Regions from separate parts of the Homo sapiens genome. Here all the other regions are linked to region 4. Evidence: promoter capture Hi-C in 16 types of primary human blood cells and fetal thymus (Javierre and others, 2016). All regions are on one chromosome and are shown on one strand. Each heading gives the region's core, a stretch centred on a gene start or on the middle of the fragment in contact. The rest is flanking DNA. Distances are from core to core; before and after follow the strand shown. Region 1 overlaps POLR1A (RNA polymerase I subunit A). Region 2 holds the start of LOC124907852 (a long non-coding RNA gene). Region 3 holds the start of SNORD94 (small nucleolar RNA, C/D box 94). Region 4 holds the start of ST3GAL5 (ST3 beta-galactoside alpha-2,3-sialyltransferase 5). Region 5 overlaps POLR1A (RNA polymerase I subunit A). Region 6 overlaps POLR1A (RNA polymerase I subunit A). Region 7 overlaps PTCD3 (pentatricopeptide repeat domain 3).

The links. Contacts are between HindIII fragments. The CHiCAGO score rates a contact against its expected background, and 5 or more counts as called.
Region 1: a contact is called between a fragment that was not itself captured here and the fragment with the promoter of ST3GAL5 in region 4, in 16 of 17 cell types (fetal thymus, naive CD4 T cells, M0 macrophages and 13 more). The highest score is 25.6, in fetal thymus.
Region 2: a contact is called between a fragment that was not itself captured here and the fragment with the promoter of ST3GAL5 in region 4, in 2 of 17 cell types (total B cells and monocytes). The highest score is 5.8, in total B cells.
Region 3: a fragment that was not itself captured here is called in contact with the fragment with the promoter of ST3GAL5 in region 4 in 1 of 17 cell types (M0 macrophages); the score reaches 6.0 in M0 macrophages.
Region 5: a contact is called between a fragment that was not itself captured here and the fragment with the promoter of ST3GAL5 in region 4, in 16 of 17 cell types (M0 macrophages, naive CD4 T cells, total B cells and 13 more). The highest score is 16.1, in M0 macrophages.
Region 6: a contact is called between a fragment that was not itself captured here and the fragment with the promoter of ST3GAL5 in region 4, in 15 of 17 cell types (M0 macrophages, megakaryocytes, fetal thymus and 12 more). The highest score is 22.3, in M0 macrophages.
Region 7: a contact is called between a fragment that was not itself captured here and the fragment with the promoter of ST3GAL5 in region 4, in 2 of 17 cell types (M0 macrophages and total B cells). The highest score is 6.0, in M0 macrophages.

The regions. Positions count from the first base shown.
Region 1 is chr2:86,040,159-86,043,567 of GRCh38, forward strand. It overlaps POLR1A (RNA polymerase I subunit A), which reads right to left. Exons shown (of 34, transcript NM_015425.6): 23 at 2,816-3,037; 24 at 1,731-1,945; 25 at 234-401. Among named protein-coding and RNA genes, the nearest start is that of POLR1A, 64 kb to the right of the region's middle. The HindIII fragment of the contact is 5,837 bases long and covers 1-3,409 here.
Region 2 is chr2:86,098,134-86,101,519 of GRCh38, forward strand. It overlaps POLR1A (RNA polymerase I subunit A), which reads right to left. Exons shown (of 34, transcript NM_015425.6): 2 at 1,835-2,039; 3 at 478-627. LOC124907852 (a long non-coding RNA gene) reads left to right here and starts at 1,590. Exons shown (of 2, transcript XR_007087121.1): 1 at 1,590-1,664; 2 at 3,072-3,188. The HindIII fragment of the contact is 5,382 bases long and covers 1-3,386 here.
Region 3 is chr2:86,133,339-86,136,396 of GRCh38, forward strand. It overlaps PTCD3 (pentatricopeptide repeat domain 3), which reads left to right. Exons shown (of 24, transcript NM_017952.6): 19 at 8-98; 20 at 954-1,039; 21 at 1,501-1,649. It overlaps SNORD94 (small nucleolar RNA, C/D box 94), which reads left to right and starts at 2,532; the gene lies at 2,532-2,668. The HindIII fragment of the contact is 191 bases long and covers 1,491-1,681 here.
Region 4 is chr2:85,887,093-85,890,488 of GRCh38, forward strand. ST3GAL5 (ST3 beta-galactoside alpha-2,3-sialyltransferase 5) reads right to left here and starts at 1,898. Exons shown (of 7, transcript NM_003896.4): 1 at 1,732-1,898. The coding sequence starts at 1,813. ST3GAL5-AS1 (ST3GAL5 antisense RNA 1) reads left to right here and starts at 2,188. Exons shown (of 3, transcript NR_110569.1): 1 at 2,188-2,711. RefSeq lists enhancers at 480-599, 610-739, 1,078-1,578, 1,270-1,349 and silencers at 1,520-1,639, 1,680-2,299. The HindIII fragment of the contact is 797 bases long and covers 1,404-2,200 here.
Region 5 is chr2:86,081,979-86,084,995 of GRCh38, forward strand. It overlaps POLR1A (RNA polymerase I subunit A), which reads right to left. Exons shown (of 34, transcript NM_015425.6): 7 at 1,104-1,190. Among named protein-coding and RNA genes, the nearest start is that of POLR1A, 22 kb to the right of the region's middle. The HindIII fragment of the contact is 2,017 bases long and covers 464-2,480 here.
Region 6 is chr2:86,062,268-86,065,508 of GRCh38, forward strand. POLR1A (RNA polymerase I subunit A) reads right to left here. Exons shown (of 34, transcript NM_015425.6): 14 at 3,007-3,198. Among named protein-coding and RNA genes, the nearest start is that of POLR1A, 42 kb to the right of the region's middle. The HindIII fragment of the contact is 7,905 bases long and covers 1-3,241 here.
Region 7 is chr2:86,115,577-86,118,684 of GRCh38, forward strand. It overlaps PTCD3 (pentatricopeptide repeat domain 3), which reads left to right. Exons shown (of 24, transcript NM_017952.6): 5 at 954-1,022; 6 at 1,479-1,583. Among named protein-coding and RNA genes, the nearest start is that of PTCD3, 11 kb to the left of the region's middle. The HindIII fragment of the contact is 3,021 bases long and covers 13-3,033 here.

The sequences.
Region 1 (3,409 bases), core at 669-3,168, 150 kb after region 4:
ATGCAGGAGTTGGCAGAGGAATAAATGGAGATCCTACCAGGCCTGGGCACCAAAGAAACCAGCTGGGCTCTGGAAATTCTAACCCTGATCCCCACTTTAATGAGACCCTGTCCCTCTCTCACACAGACACACTCTCTCATTCACACACACTCACTCACCCCCTCTCATTAAATGGCCCCTTCTCCAGGAGAGGCTAGGACAGACCCCACCCTGTGCTCCCTTGTGCCCCACACCTTGGAATGCCCAGGGTGACGTTCATCTCGCCTCTGCCTGCAAAGTGGAAGGTGTTGAGGGTCATCTGGGTGGAGGGCTCTCCGATGCTCTGGGCAGCCAGCAGGCCCACAGCCTCGCCCGGCTCACACAGTGAGCGCTGCCACTTCAGCTGCAGCAAGGTCCTCAACCTAGAGACGGTGGTGGGGGGTCAGGGTGGGGGTTGTGGCAGGGGTCAGGAGCAGACACCACAGACTGTCAATGCTGCCCGAAACCAGAAAACTGAAACCTCTACCTCTTTCTGGACTCGTTTTTCCTAGGCAAAAGATCCCTCTAATCTTCAAATTCCCACCAGTGACCCTGAGATGTCCTCAAATTACACAGCACAGATCCCAGCTGGGTGGCTGAAGCTCTAGACATTCATGCTTGGACTCCTCATGTTTGCCCCCAGAATGTCACATATCCACTCTGGGACTGTTACCACAAGCCCCCTAAGCAGGAGAATTTCTGGGTTCATTATTCACTTTTTCCTTTATCCATTCTTTCTTCTCAATTATGACAATTTGGAGACAGTTTAAACCTCCTGCTATAAAAATTAGAAAGAGGTTCACTAGGCCATTATGGGGATGGGGGTGATGAGAGTGTTTATATTTTTAGTTAGTGCAAATGGCTGCAGACCACATCAGAAGTATTCATGCCGCACGATTCTGTAATTTACTAACCATTTTTCCTATGAAGCCTGACCCTGTTAAGAACAGCCACTAGGAGCGCTGAGCTACACTGTGTGTGTGTGTGTGTGTGTGTGTGTGTGTGTGTGTGTGTGCGCGCTGAGCTACAGTGTCTGTGTGTGTGTGTGTGTGTGCTGAGCTACAGTGTCTGTGTGTGTGTGTGTGTGTGTGCTGATCTACAGTGTCTGTGTGTGTGTGTGTGTGTCTGTCCTAGTCCAAGCTGAGGCCTTCAAATGGGAACCCAAAGCTCAAAGGTGTGTGTGTGTGTGCGCGCGCGCGCTGAGCTACAGTGTCTGTGTGTGTGTGTGTGTGTGTGTCTGTCCTAGTCCAAGCTGAGGCCTTCAAATGGGAACCCAAAGCTCAAAGGATTACTGGAGTAATCGGATCCAAGGCCTCATGAGAAGTTAAGACCTGGTGTCCCTGGGCATGAATGACCTGCCCTGGGTCACACGGTTGGCAGCAGGTGAACAGTGACCAGATTCCCTGACTCTCAGTCAGCCCCACCCACCACACCAAACCCAAGAGAGCAGACTTTCCTGCAAGCCTCCCAGCAGACCACTATCCCTATCTTGGCCCAGATGGGGGTGTCCACTCCTGCCTCCCTTGCACTTGTTCACTCCTGGGCCCTTGGGGCTTGTGCGTTGCCCCTGGCTGTCTTACTGCCCTCCCTCTAGCTGAAGTCTCAAACCCAGGAGGCAGCCCTCTTCCGGAGTGAGTAGGGCAGGGGCTAGGAGGCAGGGGCTAGGAGGCAGATTCTCCTGCACATGTTGTGCAACAAATCACTGTCAATACCTGTCGAGAGAAAGCTCTGATTTCTCATAACTCTTCTCTGTTTGAGCTGCCCACTCTTGACTGTAGTCATCAACCTTTGTTTCAAATGTTTCTGACACTGATGCAAAGTAGATGTCAGGACGCCAGACAGACAGACTGGGGTCAGGACAAGCGGCCGCCTTCTTCTGGTATTTCCTTCGGCTTTCCTCATCCAACTCATACCACATCCTCAGCATCTGAACAGAAGGATGGGTCTCAGCTATGTGGGAGGGATACCCAGTAGCATAAGAGGGATCAAAAGCATTGGCTTCCAATGAGAATAAAGGGAGACAGAAAGAAACCTGATTGCAATGAGAAACCATCTCCCCATTTAAAATGGGGAGAGACTTCAACCTGTCCTAGGGCACCCTGCTTGACTATAAGCCTAGCAGCTCTTCATCCTGGCCCATTCAAGCCCAGGGAGGGCAAGCATGTAATTTACTGAGCAAACTGGGCTTCTTTTAGAGTGAAACAGGAGACTGTTATGATTAGGCTAGGACAAGAGGCAAAGCCACGACTGTCTCAGGCCAGCTAGGATGCAGTCACTGTGCTGGATCCATGGTTATTTCTGGATCCAGGCTCTTTCACACGCTCTGTGCCCTCAAGGCTGTCCCAAAGTGACTGCTTCAAAGAGATCCCCTGCTTCCAGCTCCCAGGTGTGCTTGGCTGATGGGAGGCACCAGCAGCAGAGGGAAAGGCAGGAGGAAGGGGATCCTGGTATTTATCCTCAACCCCCCTCTAGTGGGTCTCTACCCAGGGCTCTGTCCAGTGGCCCTAGCACATAGTCGTCCTCTCCGTTTCTCATGACTGCTCCCCATTCCTTCACACCTGGGATCGCGGGGAACCCCGAAGTCACAGGCCCCAGTTAGTCCCCCCAAACCCTGCCTACACCCTTGTTAAGAGTCCCCACCTTACATTCCCATTTGAGAGCCATTCTGTTCTGACTGACGGTGAACAAAGCTGGAGTTCATGATTCTACCTTCTCTTAGGAAAACAGCCCCTCATCCCTCACCCACTGACTAAGCCTGGACGTGCTGGACATTAAGGACACCACCTCCCTGCATCACCTCCTGAGTCCCAGGGCTGCGGCCATTGCGGTTTTCACTCTCAAGTTTCAGGGCTTTCACAGCTTCCTGAATTTTCTGGGAATAACTCAAGAAGGCGCCTCTTCTCAGCAGGGTGTTGGGGTGCTTGCTTTGCCATTTTTTGATAGCTCTGAAGTGGTGGAGAGCTTTTTTGGGATCTGCTCTGGATAAAACTTCATGGAGATGCTGTGATTTCATTATCACCTAAACAAACAAACAAAAAAACAAACAAACAAATCACACACATGAGATCAAAGAGATGAGGGCGTGACAAGAGGGCCATGGAGCACAAATTCAGGGGACCCAGGTGGCTGGTGTGGAGCCCTCATGATGGGGCCGAGCACCACTCTCAGAGAGGCTGAGCATCCATTGTTAATCAGGGCCCTCACTTTGTGCAAACCAGATTTGGGAACCAATGGTCTTGGGAGCAGAGGGAGACACAGGAAAGAAAGCAGCACACTCAGAGCCCCTCCAGGAGCACAAGGGAGTTTCTGGGAAGAAAGGAAGAGGGGAAGAGTGATGGCCAAGCTCAGGGATAGGAACCAGGATGGAAAGGACTCAGCACCAGAGCACAAC
Region 2 (3,386 bases), core at 192-2,691, 210 kb after region 4:
TGTATCATGTAGGTTGTATTCTTGCCAAAATGTGAATCTAATTACAAGAAATAATCGGACAATCTAAAATGTAAGAAATCCTATAAGACAACTGGCTTTGAGTCTCCAAAAAAGTTGGTATCATGAAAAAGAATTTTCTACATTACAATGTTCTACTTTAAGACAGATCAAAGAGATGTAACAATCAAAAGCAATGTCTTTTGATTGAATAAACCTTGATTGAATCCTTGGTCCAGAAAATCAGCAAAAGCTCATAAATGGATTAAATGGTATTTCACTATTGTTTCTATGAACATTTCTTTTATTATTCTTATAGCTTCCTGTTTTCACACTCAGCTATTGGTATCCAGTTATAAGATATAAAGATCAAACGTTCTGATGACTATCGGCATGGTAACTAGGACAACATACAAGCATCTCTTGTTCCCCACACCACTTTGCCTTTTCTGATTTCTGTGACCACCACTACCCACCTACCCTGTTCAGAATTCTCTCAAGCTCGTAGACTGCTTGTAGGGCCCCGACTTCCAGAACCCTCAGCTGGCAGAGTAAGAGGTGAATCACGGCCCGGGGACAAGTCAGCATGTGGCAGTTTAAACAAGAGCCCCGAAGCAGCAGGTACAGCTTCTGAAGAGAGGGAATAAAAACAAACAGGATATTAGAAAGAGACACAGTAGCCATGGTGATTTTCGGTATACTCACAAGTTTCTTTATGTAGTCAGTCTATTCCTTTAAAAACTCTACTTCAGCCTACATGCTTAGAAAGGCCTTTGTTATCTTAAGAACCAGATAAATATTACCCTCTATTTTCTTTTAAGGTTTTATTTTAATCCATTTAGATTTGAAATTTACTTTGGGCGTACAACCTGAGGTAGAAAAATATCTTTATTTTATTCCAAGATTTAATTAAGAGACTTCTCAGCCAGGTGCGGTGGCTCATGCCCGTAATCCCAGCATTTTGGGAGGCCAAGGTGGGCAGATCACTTGAGGCCAGTTACTTGAGGCCAGGAGTTTGAGACCAGCCTGGCCAACATGATGAACCTGTCTCCCGTAATTTTTGTAAAAATACAAAAATTAGCTGGGCATGGTGGTGCGTGCCTGTAATCCCAGCTACTAGGGAGGCTGAGGCACAAGAATCACTTGAATCCAGGAGGCAGAGGTTACAGTGAGCCAAGATCGTGCCACTGCACTCCAGCCTGGGAGACGGAATGAGACACTGTCTTAAAAAAAAAAAAAAAAGACACTTCTCTTTAACACGATTAACAGACAAAAATCATGTCCATGTATACCAACATATGTGTAGCTTAAAAAAAAAAATCCTGGAGGTGAGGTTAGCTGAAATAAAAAGCTGAAAATGTACCAGCATGACTCTAAACAGGAGCTTCATTCTGACCTCACTGTTGGGCTTTCTGGGGCTTTGCTTCTCCTGCCACCACACAAGTGCCTATAGAGACACCTGAAGGGCTCAGGGAGACCCTGAGAACACTGAAGTTCTCTCTATTACCAGGCAGGTGCCACTGAGATTTCTGAAGAGCACAAAGCCCCTGCAACAAAAGGTGTAGGGAATGAATCTGAACTCTCCCCGACCCTCCACGCAAACGGAATCAGGCTGTGGCTCTATTCAACTGGAATCAAACTGATATTCATTTATTTAGGGCCACAGGGTAAGTTGAAGTTATTGTATTTGGCTCAAAACTTCAAAATCTCATTCTACAGAATGCTTTCATTGGAGTGCCTGGGGCTTAACCTCCTTAGACCACTCTTGTGGGAGAGAGGCAGCACTCACAAATCCCACCAGCAGCCCGGAGACCCACACAACTAAGGCAGCACTTACATCGAAGAGGAGAGGGTTATACACTGTGAGTGGGAGCTCAATGTGGCCCAGGTGCCCAGAACAGTTGCTGAAGTCCTGCACGCAGGTGGAGCACACCTCTTTGGAATCTGCAGGGCCCAAAGCTAAATCGTACAGGCCGTTTGCCGATGGGTTCCCCAGGCTGTCCAGGTATCGAGGGTTCGTAATGGATTTAACACTTAATTTCCTAAGGGGATAAAAAAGACCAAGAGGAAAGCTAAAGTTACCAACCTCTCTGATGTTTCCTTTCCAGCACAAACCTATAGTTAAGTGATTATTTAATGCCTGCTTGATAGCTCTGGAGGGCACAATCTGTCTTTCTCACTAGTGTACCCCAACACTAAGTGCAGAGTTGGTACCCAATAGTTAATAAATACATATGTGCTAAATGAATAAGTCATAAAATACATATGTGCTAAATGAATGAGTGGTAACTTCTTAAAAACAGATTTAGAACAAAACTTGCACTAAGTACACTGGTAAACTGTTCATAAAAAGGAGTTAAGCATCTACTATACACTGACTGCTTCACAGGCAGCATTATTCTGTCTTTTTTTTTTTTTTTTTAACAAGGTCTCACTCCTGTTGCCCAGGCTAGAGTGTAGTGGTGCAACCTCGACTCACTGCAGCCTCAAACTCCTGGGCTCCAGTGATCCTCCCACCTCAGCCTCCCGAGTAGCTGGGACCACAGATGTGTGTCAATATGCCCAAACAATTTTTCGATTAATATTTTTTTGTAGAGACAGGATTTAGCCATGTTACCCAGGCTGGTCTTGAACTCCTGAGCTCTAGAGATCCGCCTGCCTCAGCCTCCCAAAGTGCTGGGATTACAGGAGTAAGCCACCATGCCTGGCCGCATTATTTAGTCCTGATCTTAATCCTCTGAAATACTCATCACTACATGTACTTTTCAGAGGACGAAACCAAGGCTCAGGGAAGTTAGGTGATTGAATCCAGGTGACACAAATACAAACAGAATGTGGGGGAGGCAGGATATGGAATAGACTTAACTCCAAAGCCCACCCAGTTCAATGAAGGGAATGTGATGCAACAATCCCTGTATGCAGAAATAGTAAATTTGACAACATTAAACACATTTAGTCAAACCTTAAAAAAGGTTTCATCACATTTTATGTTTGGTTTGAAAGGTGCTCCCATAGGACACAACTATGTTTAGTAGGCTAACTTTGCTTTTACAATTTTCTCCTTTCTGATTTAGAAAATAAAGACAAAGAAACCATCCCAATCTGACAGCCTAGAGGAAATCCGAAGGCTGAAACGAGAGTCCCCTAATGATGTAAACACTCCCTTTAATAAAGCACAAAAATAGTGTCAAGTTTTCATGAGTGGTGACATGTTCTGAGTGTAAAACAATGTTAGTCTATCAGGAACTAAGCTGCTCAGCTCTAGAAGATTCTATGTTGCATGGCCAGTGTCACTCTAAGGGCCAAGGCGACAGGGAGGCAGATCTGCTGCTGTGGCTCTTGTCTATATGGTCACCTTGCTGCCAGTAAGCTAATTTCATGAGAAACTT
Region 3 (3,058 bases), core at 336-2,835, 250 kb after region 4:
TAATCAGGCCTACTTTCCCCACTCCCAAACAATGATACATCTTCTCCAAGCATTGGATGTGGCCAATCGGCTAGAAGTGATTCCTAAAATTTGGAAAGGTCAGTTTTACTTTTTATGTGTCCAGGTGCATCTCACCTCAATATCCTCTACTTTGATAATGAATGTGCTAACATTACTGTTAGGGATGAAAACTTCCATTTTGACTGAACCAAATGTGTTAGTTGAGATGTACTTCAAGGTCATGTGCTCATGTTGCATGTTGGCTATCAGGAGAAAATTTTGTTGAAAATGACTTAAGTCAGTCCCTTCGTGACATAGGAATGAGCTGAGTTTTGTGCACCTGTTGCGGGATATGACCCAAAGAAAATAAATGCTAATGGCGTGGCAGACCCTAAATCTGAATAAAGGTCTTTGACCCGGAAGCCTGTGTAATTCCTCTGTGCCAGTGTTGCCTCACTTCACTAACCACAGTCAGTGATGATTCTGTTTCCAAGTAATAGCCATGAGCATCACGCATCACGGGTGTGTGTGTCTTATGTGTATAACTTGGCTGCAAAATGAAATAGATATTCTGTATCTTTCACTAGGTGACTACTGTATCATAAAGTCAGTAGGCTCTAGTCCCGCCCTCCTGCTTCACACGACTGCTCTAATGAGTGATAAAAGTATATCAAATTCCCAAGTGCTATAAAACAACGTCTTAACCACGTGGAGCTGGTGGCTGCTCCCATGTAGTGCACATGCCGTGATGAACACGTCACTGGAGCAAGGCCCAGGCATTGGCTTTTACATTTGTTCCACTGTGAATCCTGGTGGGTTTCTGGAATCCTGGGATAAGCCTAGAATAAATAACAGCAACTTATTTTTACCTACCAAAAAATAGGTTGACAGTGAACAAAAGTGTGTTGGTTTTACATAACAATGATCACTCCTTGTTCCTTTCTTGTTTCAAGATAGTAAAGAATATGGTCATACTTTCCGCAGTGACCTGAGAGAAGAGATCCTGATGCTCATGGCAAGGGACAAGCACCCACCAGAGGTAGGCCTGAAACTCACCAGCCAGTATATCCTCCCATACTGAGGTCTTCTTAAGGCTAGCTTCCCTGGTTTTATCTGCCATTTTGGAGAGTTCTGCTACCCAAACCCATATTTGAGTGATGATACATCTAAACATATCTTGCCCTTAGCAGAAATCTGTTCTTAAAGTTACCCTCTTTCCTGTAGTCCAAAGCAAGCAACATGAAATTAGCTTCTGTCTTCAGCTTGCTTTTTTAAAAATCTCCATCTACAAAGGAAATGCATAGCTGAATTTGAAAGTTGTGGCTAATCAAAATACTTAGGACAGGGTCCTTTTTTTATTAAATTACTTGTGTGCTATACACATAATATATTCAAATGGTAAAATGCATTGCTCAGATTTTAAGGATCCTGTGTTAGTCTCCTGAACTGAAATTCTCATAAAATCAGTTAGGCAGTTCTGCTGACTCCTAAGCTTCTCAGCTTCAGGTGGCATTTGCTGACTGTGCTGCTGATATCAAATCTGCGTATGAAAGCCAACCCATCAGACAGACTGCTCAGGATTGGCCAGCCACCTCTCTCAACTGTATAGCTATCCTCTTTTTAAGGGCTGGGAGAACTCAGGAAGCCTGGTGAGTACAGTACCACAAGTATACACTTTAGAAGCTTTTGTATTTGAATCTAAAACATTGGCCCACGCTGGTAGAGGTTCTTTCATTTGGCCACATAACACGTATTTGATTCGGGAACTTGCAAATACCAACTAAAAAGCAAACTTTTGGAAGAAGACAGTATGCATGATGTAGTTGAGATAAGGCATAGTTCTCTCAAACCATACGCTGAGAATTATCTTTCTACTTTCTGTGTCTATGGACAAGTAAGTCACTTAACCTCATTATTCCACTTAAATGAACTAAAGATCAAAGAAATATATGATCAAAGAAACGTAGTTTTGAAAATGGTTTGGTCATTTGGGTTATTGAAGTATTTTTGGATGCTTCTCCCATCCCACTCTCCAGCTTAAAATGTGGGCTGTGTACTTAGACTTCTGGAAGCTGGCATTTACGCACATTAACTAAACTTGGCCTTGACCACAACCCGTCCTTGATTGGTGCCACTGTGTTCTGGTTATGTTTTTATCAGCACTTCATTCACATACTAATTTTTAGTGTTTGTGAATGGGAACCTTATGCATATTCATGTTTCCAAAAATGAGCAAAAGGATCTTTTGTAGGGGTAGTGACAGGTGGTTTTCCTGTATTTTGTTTTGTATATAAATGTGTGTTCTAAAAGTCATTAGTGGGGGGTGCTTGTGCATGGCTCCTTGTACAAGAAAGTAGCTTTATTTGAACATCTGATTGCTAGTCAGCTATCTCCAGGAAAAGATGATGAAGGCTTGTCTTTGAGGTGTGGCTCACACGTGTCTCTCTAGCAACTATGCTGCTAGTGACAGAGACGTATGACATTTGCATTTGGTTGTTAGCGCAGGCAGTTTGGCACACACTTGATACAACCAGGCTGTGATGATTGGCGCAGGGGTACGGACCTCAGCTGAGTCATGGGAGCTGAATGTATGTGTTTCTCCTTTGTCCTGCATGTGGCAGGCTGATGGGGAGCACTTACATGAGACTGTTGCCTCAATCTGAGCCTGCACTTCATAACAGAATTCTAAGACAGACTGAACCCCTGCTGTACTTTAAGAGAGGGAAACAGCAGGTTCTGTTCTATGCCTCTTTTCCAGCTGTGCACAGGATGGATTCCCTCCTTAGAAGGACAGTGGTGATCCTCTACAAGAGGACAAATACAGTTGGAGTATCCCTTTTCCAAAATGCTTAAGACCAGAAGTGTATGGGGTTTTAGATTTTGGAGCATTTTTGGATTAGGAATATTCAACCTGTACCAGCAAATCTTGACATTGGCAGCATATCAGATTTACCTGTGAAAACTGCAGTGTAGATTCGTTTGGGGAGTTTAAGCACCTGCGGTGATTCTCATGTACACACAGGGCTGGGAGCTAGTAGAGCCCACAGATGTGTGTCTT
Region 4 (3,396 bases), core at 648-3,147:
ACTCACCAACCTCTTTTCATTCATTGCCTCCCGAGGCCAACCTGCTAGATAAATTCCCCTCATTGCTGCAAATAGTCCCACAAGGCAAGCAGGGAAGAACTAGAGGAGCAAACCAAAGAACAAAGAGTGTGTTCTTATTCTGCCACGGATATATCCTTAACGTTCATCACCAATCTATTTTGATAACATGCAACAATTTACAATTTATGCCAAAATTATAAGAACTGTCCAAATAGTCGTAAATGTGAGCTCTCAAAATTTCTGCCTGTCAGCCCTCTCTCTTCCATGAGCCCCTTCATGCCTTCCTATCTCACCTGTTTCTTTTCTCGCCTAGACGAAGAAATGCTGATCATAACCCAGAATATCCAAGGGTCATTTCATCTTACAAAAACAGCAGCATCCATATAACAGGCACATGGGTAAAAGACTCAAGACATGCTGGTTATATGCTCTCGCAGTTCGTATGAATCTCTCCTTCTCCAAGTGACAGCTGGAATTCAGGTGCTTCTAGGCTCTGTTACTAGCAATGTTAGACACTCCTCGAAGCTGTCAAGCTCTCAGGATTACACAAGTGAAACCACAACCTGTCCTGACTGTATTCAAGTCTGTGCCCCTTCATGCAGCAGAAATGGATTCCTCTTCCACAGTTTCAGCAGCTGTATCCTTCCGTGGAAAAGGATTAGCAGCCATAAGCCCGGGGGAGGGCAGCTAAACACCAGAGGGCAGGAGATGAGTCTCCTTCCTCTCTGTGACACCCAGCACGGCCCTGCCACGAGGAGCAGGCAACCACTGGTGCCAGATGAAGCGCAGCACATAAAACCATTTTCCCCTTCAAATGAACGATGCCTAATTAAGCAAAAGCCGCATGCATGACTTAAGACATGAGGATATAAAATTCGTCTTCCGAGTCAGCTAGAGATTCTGCAGGATCCTCTACCCTCGTAAACGTATTTTTTTATGATTAGAAAAACCCGGGGCCTGGAAGGGACCTCGGCCATCGGCAGGGTAAGCTTCTCAGGAGAGACCATGAGCCCGAGCCCCACAGGGGGATCAGTGTCTGCCAAGGTCACCAAGCGGGTGTGAGGCAAGGGCAGGGCTCCTCGGGGATGCTCTCGGAAAACCCTGCGTTACTTACACACGCAAGGCGTACAATGAATGCACACCCGCGTCAAGCCACGGCTTACAATTCAGAAGAAATCAAAAGGTCGCCAAAACCTGTCTTCTCCGCAAGGCTGGCTGCAGAGAGGGTGCAGGGAAGGTCACCGGCAAATTTCTACCAGCGGCCCCACATCACGCCTCCCCGATGGATGCAGAGAGAGGTTTCAGGAGCTGCTAGTAACCTTGCAGGGGGTTCCCTAAGCCCATCCCAGGAAAACGAGTTAACTCGGCTCTGCTAACTCCGAAGCTTCCAGCAATGAATTAAATCCCGAGCTGCAGCGGAAAGCGGCGGGGAAAGGGCCACTGCGGCGGGACCCGACACCCGGCGGTCCGCCCCACCCTCTACCGCGTACACACCTGCGTGGGACCCCCCGCCCGGTCCACACGGCCCGGGACCACGACCCTCCGCCCGCGCCCCAGCCGGGCTCGCCTGAGGGTGTCGTGCCCTGGGCGCTGCCCGCGGGGTTCGAGGCGGAAACGCCGCGCCCAGCCGGCCCGGGAAGAGACAAGTCGCCGCCGCAGCCCCCAGCCCGCGGGCCCCCGCGACGCCGAGGAGGGGGCTGCGCCACGTACCTCGGCCGGCAGGTGCCGCCGCTGCCTCGGTCCGCGGCTGCAGGGGACGCCGCTCCGCGCAGCCCGCCGCCTTCGTCCGCATACTAATGAGGGGGCGCCGGCCGGCCGCCAGCCCGGTACCCCGCGCCCCCACCCGCCCCCAGCGCCGCTCTCGCGCCCATTCAGCTGGGGGCCGCCGCTCCCCCGCTCAGATGCGGAGGAGGGGCGCGTGGGCGGGGTCTGACGTCACGAGGACGCGGACGGCCAATCGGAGAGCACGATGCCTCCGCGGCGGCCCCCGCCCCCGGGCGCGCGGCCAGTCAGCCCTGCGGTGCGGTGGGCATTGCCAGAGCAGGGCGCCCCCTGCAGGGACGCACCCGGGGCGGGGGCCAGGCTGGGGCGAGCCCCCCTTGGTTCTGGAGAGGAAATGACATACAGTTTGTGAAAGCATAAATATTCGTGAAAATAAGAAAATTCAGGAAGGAAACAAAGCTTAAGGCAGTGATTGATAGGTTATTTCTTGGACACAGCTGAACGTATACTGTGCGCCTGCAACTTTCCGGTGGTTTCGGACCGGACTTCAGTGAAGCCAGTGAAGTCGGTCGACTTGCAGAACTTCCTTTCAGAGGGGCGTACACAGCACCGCGGCCGTGTGCCTGTGATCTCCTTCTGAGTTTGAAAAAGAAGATCCTAGACACCGAGCCAAATATGTTTGCATAAACCGGGAGACTTGTGGCTCTATTTTGTAACAGCTTGGCGCAGGGCAGCTGGTTTGGAGATGTCTCTGTTCTTCCCTTGGTGGGGGTGCCGGAAAAAATGTGCTGCCTGGGCGATCGAGGTTGGGGCAAAAGCGTTGCAAAGGAAAAGGTGGGAGGACTCTACTTTCACATTTCCCAAAAGAGTTTTACCATAAGACTATTTCTGGATTGTTCTAACGTGAGGATATTGGGAGCATTTTGAAAATACTGGAGGAAAAGCTGTCACTGGGCGATTTAAATCCGGTAAGTTGGCCAAGGCAGAGCAGCTGCTGGGGTCAGCGACAGCTGACCCTTGCAGCTGAGTATCTTGCCCTCTTAATCTTGGAGATCAGCCCAAGGCCCATGTGTTACAGGAAAGGGGTCCCGATCTAGACCCCAAGAGAGGGTTCTTCGATCTCACGCAAGAAACAATTCAGAGTAAGTCCACAGTGCAAAGTAAAAGCAAGTTTATTAAGAAAGTAAAGTGGTGGCTGGGCACAGTGGCTCACGCGTAATCCCAGCACTTTGGGAGGCTGAGACGGACAGATCACCTGATGTCAGGAGTTCAAGACCAGCTGGCCAACATGGCAAAACCCCGTCTCTACTAGAAATACAAATATTGGCCGGGCGTGGTGGCGCAAGCCTGTTGTCTCAGCTACTCACGGGGCTGAGGCAGGAGAATCGCTTGAACCCGGGAGGCAGAGGCTACAGTGAGCCGAGATCGCCACTGCACTCCAGCAGGGCATTCCTGAAAATAAGAGGAGGGACATATCCAACTAAGGTACAATGCTTGTAATGCTTGTATATATGGGCAGATGTCTTCTGCTACAAGGGTTTGTGATAAAGGATTAATTTTCCCTAATTACTATATTTTGCAATAATCAATATTATTATTTTTAAAGCAAAATTAGGAATGCCTTTGTTCTCCAGATATCGGGATATCTGGACT
Region 5 (3,017 bases), core at 222-2,721, 190 kb after region 4:
GTGCTATCATGTCCAGCTAATTTTTGTATTTTTTTTTTTAAGAGATGAGGTTTTGCTTGGTTGCCCAGGCTGGTCTCGAACTCCTGGGCTCAATTGATCCACCTGCCTCAGCCTCCCATATTGCTGTGATTGGAGGCATGAGCCAACGTGCCTGGCCTCATTTTTCTTTATAAAAACAAAAAATAGCCCCTGTGTACATGACAGTTTGTATGCAGGGGATATGATAGCATAAAAATGGGTACTACAGGGACAATAGCTCTTAAACCAGGGACTGAGATGGGCAAGGATGGGGAAGAAACTTCACTTGTTTTTAATCACCCTCCTGGACTATTAAAACACAGACAGCACACACATCATTACTTTGATCTTCATAAAAAATATGTTGAATAAAAAAATTTTTTTTTAAGTTAGCCTCCTCCCACCCCTAACAGTTACTGCCAAGAAAGGATCTTCTGTGGATCAAAGCTTTATTTCAGGTTTCTGGTTACTTTAAAAAATGCCTAGAGAAAAAGATTAAAATGTACTAGGGCCTGCCACAGAAGCAATCATACTAACTCCAGTGCTTTTTTTTTTTTCTGATACCTCTTTAACAACATGTTCATTTGTAAGCGCTTATTACACAGAGGTTATAGTCAGCGTTCCACAACATACTCTCACAAGGGCTTGAATATACTGCGTAGGTTTTGTTATACACTCAAAAGGAAAGAAGGATTTCCCTTATAGTAAAGTCCCAATTTAAATAAGACAGAGTTCATTCTTTGATTCACAGAAGGACAAAGCATTTTACTTACGGGCATTTAAAATAAGTTACACTGAACCTTCTAAAAATATGCCAACCTGTATTAAGTGAGGCCCACCTGCAGTTGTCATTTCATAACCAGGCTCAGCTGCGATAATTGTCAAGTTTTTGGTGCTGGGTATGACCTCTCCTGCTCTATGACTCAATGTCAATGTGCCCTGAAGACTGCCCCAAACCTCTGGATCAGTTCCAGGAGGAAGCTACAATCACTACAACTTAAAAGAAGTAATAAGGCAGGGTTAATGAGTCCAGGAAATAAAAGCCTAGAGAAGATCAAGGCTATTTCTTTAGCCTGATACAGCACCTTCATTCTTCCACAGGGCAGAAAGGTGTTCGCGGGCACTGGTGGGTGTTAAGTATCCTCGTTTTCCTATCTGAGCTTCCTCAATTCCTGGAGCCAAGGAGGAGAATCAAAGTGCAATAAATCAGAAACAGGTACTCTTTCTGCAATGGGATTTATCAATTCTTTATCCCCAAGCCTGCAACTTGACCACAAAAATCAATCTCAAGGGTAGCATATTATCAGGCCTGGATTCCCTCTGGCCCTTAATCTCATTTCTATAGTAATAAAAACCATATGGCTATTGTATAAAACCTAAAAAAAAAAAAAAGCAAAGTAAAAGAAAACATTACCCATAATCCCATCACATTAACAACTCCTATCACTTTTATATATTGTTTTCCAGGCCTTTTTGTCTATACACGTATTTTACACAACTGTAATCTTCAGTGTGGATTTATTTTGCACACTACTTTGCCCTTTTAGTATCATCTCATCAGCATGTCTGCATGTTGCTATGTAGCTTTTGCCTGATCACCATTTTTCATGGCTATGTGATATTCCATTAAGGATGATTCCTAATTCACTTAACCATATTCTCATAATTGGACATCTGGATTGATTTCCATATTTTGCTATTATAAGTAACATTATAATAAATATCTTTATCTACCTGTTTTTTACCAGAAAAGTTCATATAAGTTGAATTATGGATAAATAAGTATTTTTATAGGTAAATATATACTGACTTCTTTTTACAAATATCATACTGGTGTGTGAGGAATAGATTGGGCTTGGTTTCTCACACTAAGCAAGATCACTCTGGGATGCCATCTACCAGCAATACCCAGGTTACATGAGAAAACGAGGCTTGGGACTGCCATTCAGGAGGTAGGGACCAGGCATTTAAGATGATTACCTAAGACAAGTAAGTAGTGTGTCTTTCAGGTTCAAAACTTTCTGGGCACTTTGGGAGGCCAAGGCAGGCAGATCACCTGAGGAGTTTGAGACCAGCCTGGCCAACACAGGGAAACCGTGTCCCTATGAAAAATACAAAAATTAGCCGGGCATGGTGGTGGACGCCTGTAGTCCCACCTACTCGGGAGGCTGAGGCAGGAGAATGGCGTGAACCCAGGAGGCGGAGCTTGCAGTGAGCGGAGATTGTGCCACTGCACTCCAGCCTGGGCAACAGAGCGAGACTCCGTCTCAGAAAAAAAGAAAATACTGGACATGACTGTAATCCCAGCTACTAGGGAGGCTGAGACAGGAGAATCGCTTGAACCTGAGAGGCAGAGGCTGTAGGGAGCCGAGATCGTATCGCTGCACTCCAGCCTGGATGACAAAGTGAGACCCTGTCTCAAAAAAAAAAACACAAAACAAAACAAAACAAAAACCCCAAAAAGCTTTTCTGGATACATCCACTGAAACTAAGCATTACTCAATGTTCCTTTTTTATTCACATATCAGGACAGGCACTATGCCTTGTCTGTGTTCCTAACACTTGACAGGGTGTCTAGCTCACAGCAAATTCTAAGTTAAGAGTATACGGCTCAAATATAAAATAGCCTAAGATAGTCTACACTTAAAAACACCACTCTTGCCTTTTCCTTTTTTTTTTTTTTTTTTTCAAGACGGAGTCTTGCTCGTCACCCAGGCTGGAGTGCAGCGGCACGATCTCAGCTCACTGCAACCTCCGCCTCCCAGGTTCATGCGATTCTCCTACCTCAGCCTCCTCCATTTTTAAAAACTAGCTTCATTCCACCTCCAATTCTCCAGCTAGTTTCTTTAAAATCTGCAGAGGATATGTCATCATAAGTTTTTAGAGAAATCCCTAACTTGGAGAACAATTAACAAATGCACCATAATTTAAGTAGTCTCTGTTAATAGGTATTTAAGTCATGTCCAGTATTTTCTTTTTTTCTGAGACAGAGACTTGCT
Region 6 (3,241 bases), core at 455-2,954, 170 kb after region 4:
TGAAAAACTTCACCCATGACAGAAGCAAAACCTGGGCCTATTTCCCAATTTTATTTGGTACAAAGGATTTGAAAAGGATCCAAGGTGCAGTCTCTAGGCACAATGAAATTAAACCGGAAATCAACAATCGAGATATTTGGAAAAGCCCTCAATATTTGTACTTCTAAATAACTGAACAACATACTTCTAAATAACTCATGGATTGAAAAAAAAAATCAAAAGGGAAATTAGAAAGTATTCTGAAGTAGATGAAATGAAAACACAACATATTAATTTGTGGGATGCTACTTAAGCAGAACTTAAGGGGGAAATTTATACATAAAATGCCTACATTGAAAGAAGAAAAGGGGTCTCAAATTGACTTAAAGAACTTAAAGAACTAGGAAAAAAAAAAGAGCAAATTAAACCAAAGTAAACAGAAGAAAGGGAGTGATAAAGTTCAAATCAACGAAACAGAAAACAGAAAAATAAAGTCAATAAAACCAAAGACTTTTTTTTGAGAATAAAACTGATAAACCTCTAGGCAAACTGATCAGGAAAAAAGAGAAGACACAAATTATCAATGTCAGGAATGAGAGAAGTGACACCACTACAGGCAATACAGATAGAAAAGGTCAACAAAGGAGCATTATGAACAACTTTGTGCCTATAAATTCAGTAACTTAGATGAAATGGACAAATTCCCTGAAAAACACAAACAATTAAAGCTCATTCAAGAAGTAGATAACCAAAAATAGCTCTATGTCTACTAAAGAAATAGAAATTTTAATTGAAAATCTTCCCACAGGTTGGGCGCGGTGGCTCAGGCCTGTAGTCCCAGCACTTTGGGAGGCCAAGGTTGGTGGATCACCTGAGGTTGGGAGTTCGAGCCCAGCCTGACCAACATGGAGAAACCCCATCTCTACTAAAAATACAAAATTAGCCGGGCATGGTGGCGCATGCTTGTAATCCCAGCTACTTGGGAGGCTGAGGCAGGAGAATTGCTTGAATCTGGGAGGTGGAGGTTGCGGTGAGCCAGGATCACACCATTGCATTCCAGCCTGGGCAGCAAGAGCAAAACTCCATCTCAAAAAAAAAAAAAAAAAAAAAAAAAAAGAAAGAAAACCTTGCCACAAAGAAACTCTAGGCCCAGATGCCTTCACTGGTGAATTCTACAACACATTTAAGGAATAAATAATATGAATACTGTACTACACAAACTCTTACAGAAAACCAGAGGAAATACCTCCTAACACCTCATTCTGTGAGGCCAGGATTACCCTGATACCAAAACCAAACAAACATATTATAAGAAAATAAAACTACAGACCAATATCTATCACAAACACAGAAGTAAAAAAATTCTAGACAAAATATTAGCAAATTGAATTCAATAATATATAAAAAGGATAATACCTCACGACCAAGGAAGGTTTATCCAGGAATGCAAGGTTGGCTTAAAAAGGAAAATCAAGTTCCAGGTCCACAGACTAAGAACTGGAGAGCAGGAAGAGACCTTAGAGATCATGAACTTGAAGCTGAAGTCATTGATTTGGGACCCTTTTTCTTCTTTTCAACCTAGGCATTTTATGTATAAATTTCCCCCTTAAGTTCTGCTTCAGTGGCATCCCACAAATTTTGTTGTGTTTTCATTTCATCTACTTCAGAATGCTTTCTAATTTCCCTTTAGATTCTTTTGACCCATGAGCTATTTAAGAAGTACGTTATTTAGAAGTACAAATATTGAGGGCTTTTCCAAATATCTTGGTTGCTGATTTCCAAATTCCATTATGCCCAGAGGCCACATCTTGAATCCTTTTAAAATCCTCTGTACCAAATAAAATTAGGAAATAGGTCCAGGTTTTGCTTCTGTCACGGGTGAGATTTTTTAGTGTGTCTCTAAAGGTTGGTACGGGCTTTTTTTTTGCCAACAGGTGAAAAGGGCAAGAGTGACTACACTATGCAAGAATTTGTTTGTGGGTTAGTCTGGTTTCAAAGAGAAAAACCATGTTTAGAATCAGAACTTAGCTTAGCAAGTTAATTTCTACTGTCCCAGGAAATGATGAGGAACTGAGACACACAGGGCTAAGATCACATAGCCAATTAGAAGTTGATCCTTAAGGCTGAACTTGGATACTCAGGCAACAGCAGAAGAACATATTTTACTGTTTTTCATTATTTGGTCGCCACATATCATGTAATTTGGTTACTTTGAGAGGAAGTATGGTATGATGCTTCTGGGGTTGAAAAGTCCTGGGTTTGATCTGTCTCCTGTAGTCTTGGGCATGTAATTTATCATCTCCTAAATGGAGATAATAATGGTGTCTGCATTGCAGATTAGTCGTGAGTATTAAATCAGATAATGTGTCTAAAGCACTCAGCAAACATATGGAACTTCCCAACAAATATTACTATTACTCCACCAGCACCACTGCCTATTACCACCATATTTGTATTATGAGGACACCAAATTTAAGTTAGAAGCAAAGGACAGAAACTATGCAGTCTACTTTTTTTTTTTTTGTGGAGACGGAGTCTCACTCTGTTGCCCAGGCAGGAGTGCAGTGGCTGATCCTGACTCACTACAACCTCCACCTCCTGGGTTCAAGCGATTCTCTTGCCTCAGGCTGAGGCGATTCTCTTGCCTCAGCCTCCCGGTAGCTGAGATTACAGGCACTAATCCCACGCCCAGCTAATTTTGTACTTTTAGTAGAGATAGGGTTTCACCATGTTAGCCAGGCTGGTCTCAAACTCCAGACCTCAGGTGATCTGCCCGCCTCAGTCTCCTAAAGTGTTGGGATTACAGGTGTGAGCCACTGCACCAGGCTACTATGCAGTCTACTCTTGCTAGACACTCCCTTGAAGCCACCCAGACTCAGGAACCCCAAACAAAGGGGAAAGAAAGTCAGACTATTGCTGGCTTAGCCATTTCTCTGTCTCTGGTCTGGACTCTTCTGAGAATAAAACCTTTTACATGAGTGGCCTATTTCCTTTTGTTACATACACTGGCTGTTCTCTCCCAATTACCTGTTTTCCTGTCCACAGCGGAAAGGGCTTCAGGATGGAAGGAGAAAGGAGCTTCACGCGCCCCACTTTGTCCGTGAGTCCTCGGTACACCAGCTCCATATAGTGCTCCCGGGTGAAAAAGCAACCCCGAGTAGTCATGCTTGCCCCTGAAACCATGTGATCCTGGATCAGTCCCGCCAATGGTTGGCCATCCTATAAGCCAAAACAGACAACACAAGAAGAATGAAAATAAATC
Region 7 (3,108 bases), core at 273-2,772, 230 kb after region 4:
GAGCTGCAGGGAAGCTTCTGTGCCCCCTCCCTGAGGAGTCCAGGTCAGTAAAACAGCATTAAGGATATAGGATAAGTTTTTGCTTTGGAATAAAGGCCCAAGTAAGGCACTCAGACACAGAAGAGAATAAAGAAAGCAATTCTGGGGCATTTCTCAGTGGGGCCCCTGGTGGTATTGGAGAGTTGATTATGCTCAGGTTTAGGGAGCAATTTTAATGGGTAACAGGACGTGGGAGAAGGTTCTGTTGTTCATTCCTCAGAGGGCACGGTGATATCTTCCATTTGGAGGAGGGACTCTTGGTGAAGTTGAGCGTGGGTGGATAGTGACCTTGCTTTGGAGGAAATCCTATTCTGGGATTCTGCTGTTAGGACTAGTTAATTCAGATGATTCTTACCTAGAGTTTAAAACAGTCCCCAGTGGTAGCAAACTTAAATATTAAAATCAGCCATGGGGAGGGAGGCTTAAGCCATTGCTTGCCTTGCATAATTAAAGGCAAGTCTTGTAGAGCTGAGAGTACAGTGCAGGTGTTTGTCTTTTGTCTTTTTTCTCTATATATACATGTATATATGCCCACACACGTTTGCGCATTTAGGTTACATACATAATTACAACTTACGGAATTTTTGTTTATCAAAACTCACAAGGTCCTCTTAAAAATTTAGCTAGAAAGACTTGTGGGCTGGATACAGTGGCTCACGTCTATAATCCTAGCCCTTTGTAAGGCAGAAGTGAGAGAACTGCTTGAGGCCAGGAGTTTGAGACCAGCTTGGGTGACACAGCAAGACACCCTCTCTGCAAAAAATTTTGTGAAATGGCCAGCTGTGGTGGCACACACCTGTAGCCTAGGCTACTTGGGAGGCTGAGGCAGGAGAATCCCTTGAGTCCAGGAGCTAAAAGTTACAGTGAGCTGTCTTCAAAATAAATATAGAAATTGTATTATGTCTTTTCCACAGGATACCACAGCTGTGCCTTATGTGTTTCAAGATGATCCTTACCTTATGCCAGCATCATCTTTGGAATCTGTGAGTATTTTCATATAATTTTCTAGTGTTTTATCTCTCTGGTTTGCGTACAACAGTACATAAATAATTTAGTTGTAATAACCTGGGAAAGGTTTACAAATGCTGAGAAATTGATAGACTATGTGAATCCTTTACTACTTTCTTCAAAAAGATGTACATATCGTCAATGGGGAAAGGATTTTTGGTTTTGGTTTCTAATACTTAGGGCTTTTTCACACTGGAGTGACCCACTCAGTTTAAATGGCTTGCTTTTTATATATTTCAAGCTGTGTATAAGATGCTAACTGAAATTATATCACAGTAGAAAAGGTGGGATAGTCTATAATTTCTAATTGGGATTCTGCGTGTTGTTGCATTTGTTTTTTTTTGTGAGGGGGGAGAAATTCTTGCTGAGAGTGTAACTATAATCTTGCTTGAGTTTAAATTACATGTATTTAAATCTTTTTCTTTATATAGCGTTCATTTTTACTGGCAAAGAAATCCGGGGAGAATGTGGCCAAGTTTATTATTAATTCATACCCCAAATATTTTCAGAAGGACATAGCTGAACCTCATATACCGGTAAGGAGAGGTAGTTACATTATTTACATAATACTATTTTAAATGTAAATTAAACCAGGCTTTCATGGCTAATATTTCAGTAGCTATTTGAATACCCTCAATATTTGGATGATAAGCCTTTTAAAGTGTGGAGTTAGCTTTGATCACAAGACTAACTTTAAAATTCTTTCTGTATTTATTTGCTCTTCATCTTAATATTTTCCCCATTTGATTTTTGTGACACCATGCTCTTAGGTCTTTAATTCTATGACTGAAGTTTCCTTCACTACCTCTCTATACACATCTTTCTCTTCCTTTTTTTTTTTTTTGAAACGGCATCATGCTGTCACCCAGGCTGGAGTGCAATGGTACAATCATAGCTCATTGCAGCCTGGAACCCCTGGGCTCAAGTGATCCTCTTGCCTCAGCCTCACAAGTAGCTTGGACTACAGGGGTGTGCCACCATGCCTGGCTGATTTTTTTTAATTTTTAGTTTTTGTAGAGAACAGGGTCTTGTCTCACTGCACTGCCCAGGCTGGTCTCAAATTTCTGGGCTCAAGCAAACACCCTTCTCAGCCTCTGCAATCTCTGGGATTGCAGGTGTAAGCCACTGCTGCTTGCTCTTGATCCGCTTCTTTTTTTGTTTGTTTTTGTTTGAGATGGAGTCTCACTCTGTTGCCCAGGCTGGAGTGCAGTGGCACGATCTTGGCTCACTGCAGCCTCTGCCGCCCGGGTTCAAGCAATTCTCCTGCCTCAGCCTCCTGAGCAGCTGGGATTACAGGTGCCTGCCACCGCACCTGGCTAATTTTTATAGTTTTAGTAGAGACGGGGTTTTACCATCTTGGCCAGGCTGGTCTTGAACTCCTGACCTCGTGATCCACCCGACTTGGCCTCCCAAAGTCCTGGGATTACAGGTGTGAGCCACCGTGTCCGGCCTTGATCCACTTCTTAAGCATGGGTATCTTTCTTAGATTTTTATGCTCATTTTCTCTTTTTATTGTGTATACTCTTCTGTTTCAGTGACGCTTATAATCCATTTGGTACTCTTTTGTATATCTAGCCTAGATCCCTTTACTTTGAACTCCACATTGTATTTCCAGCTCCCTCTTTGTTCTGTAGTTTTGGAGTGAGGATTTATGCAGTGTGGTGGGTATTGTGCTTAGTGCTTGTCCATACAGTGGTGAGCAAAACAGATGCGCCTCTGCCCTCCTGAGTTTGTTGGTGGAAGTACTAATCTCAGACTCATCATATCTAAACTGCTCCCATATCCCTACATCTCTCTGCTTCCCAAAGCTCACAGGGAAACACACACTTCTTGTTTTCATAGTAGAACTTGCACATAGATGAGGAAGCCAGTGTGATTGTGTAAGTCAAAATATTAAAATCCTAAACTAAGACAGTGTCTTTCTCCATTAGATTGTGAGCACCCTGAAGGTAGAGAATGCCTTTCGTCTCTGTATCCCCAGTGCCAAGCTTAATGTCTGGGGTAAAATAGTAGGCATTCAGAAAGTATTTGAATAAGTTAGTGAATGAGGTAAAATCAGCA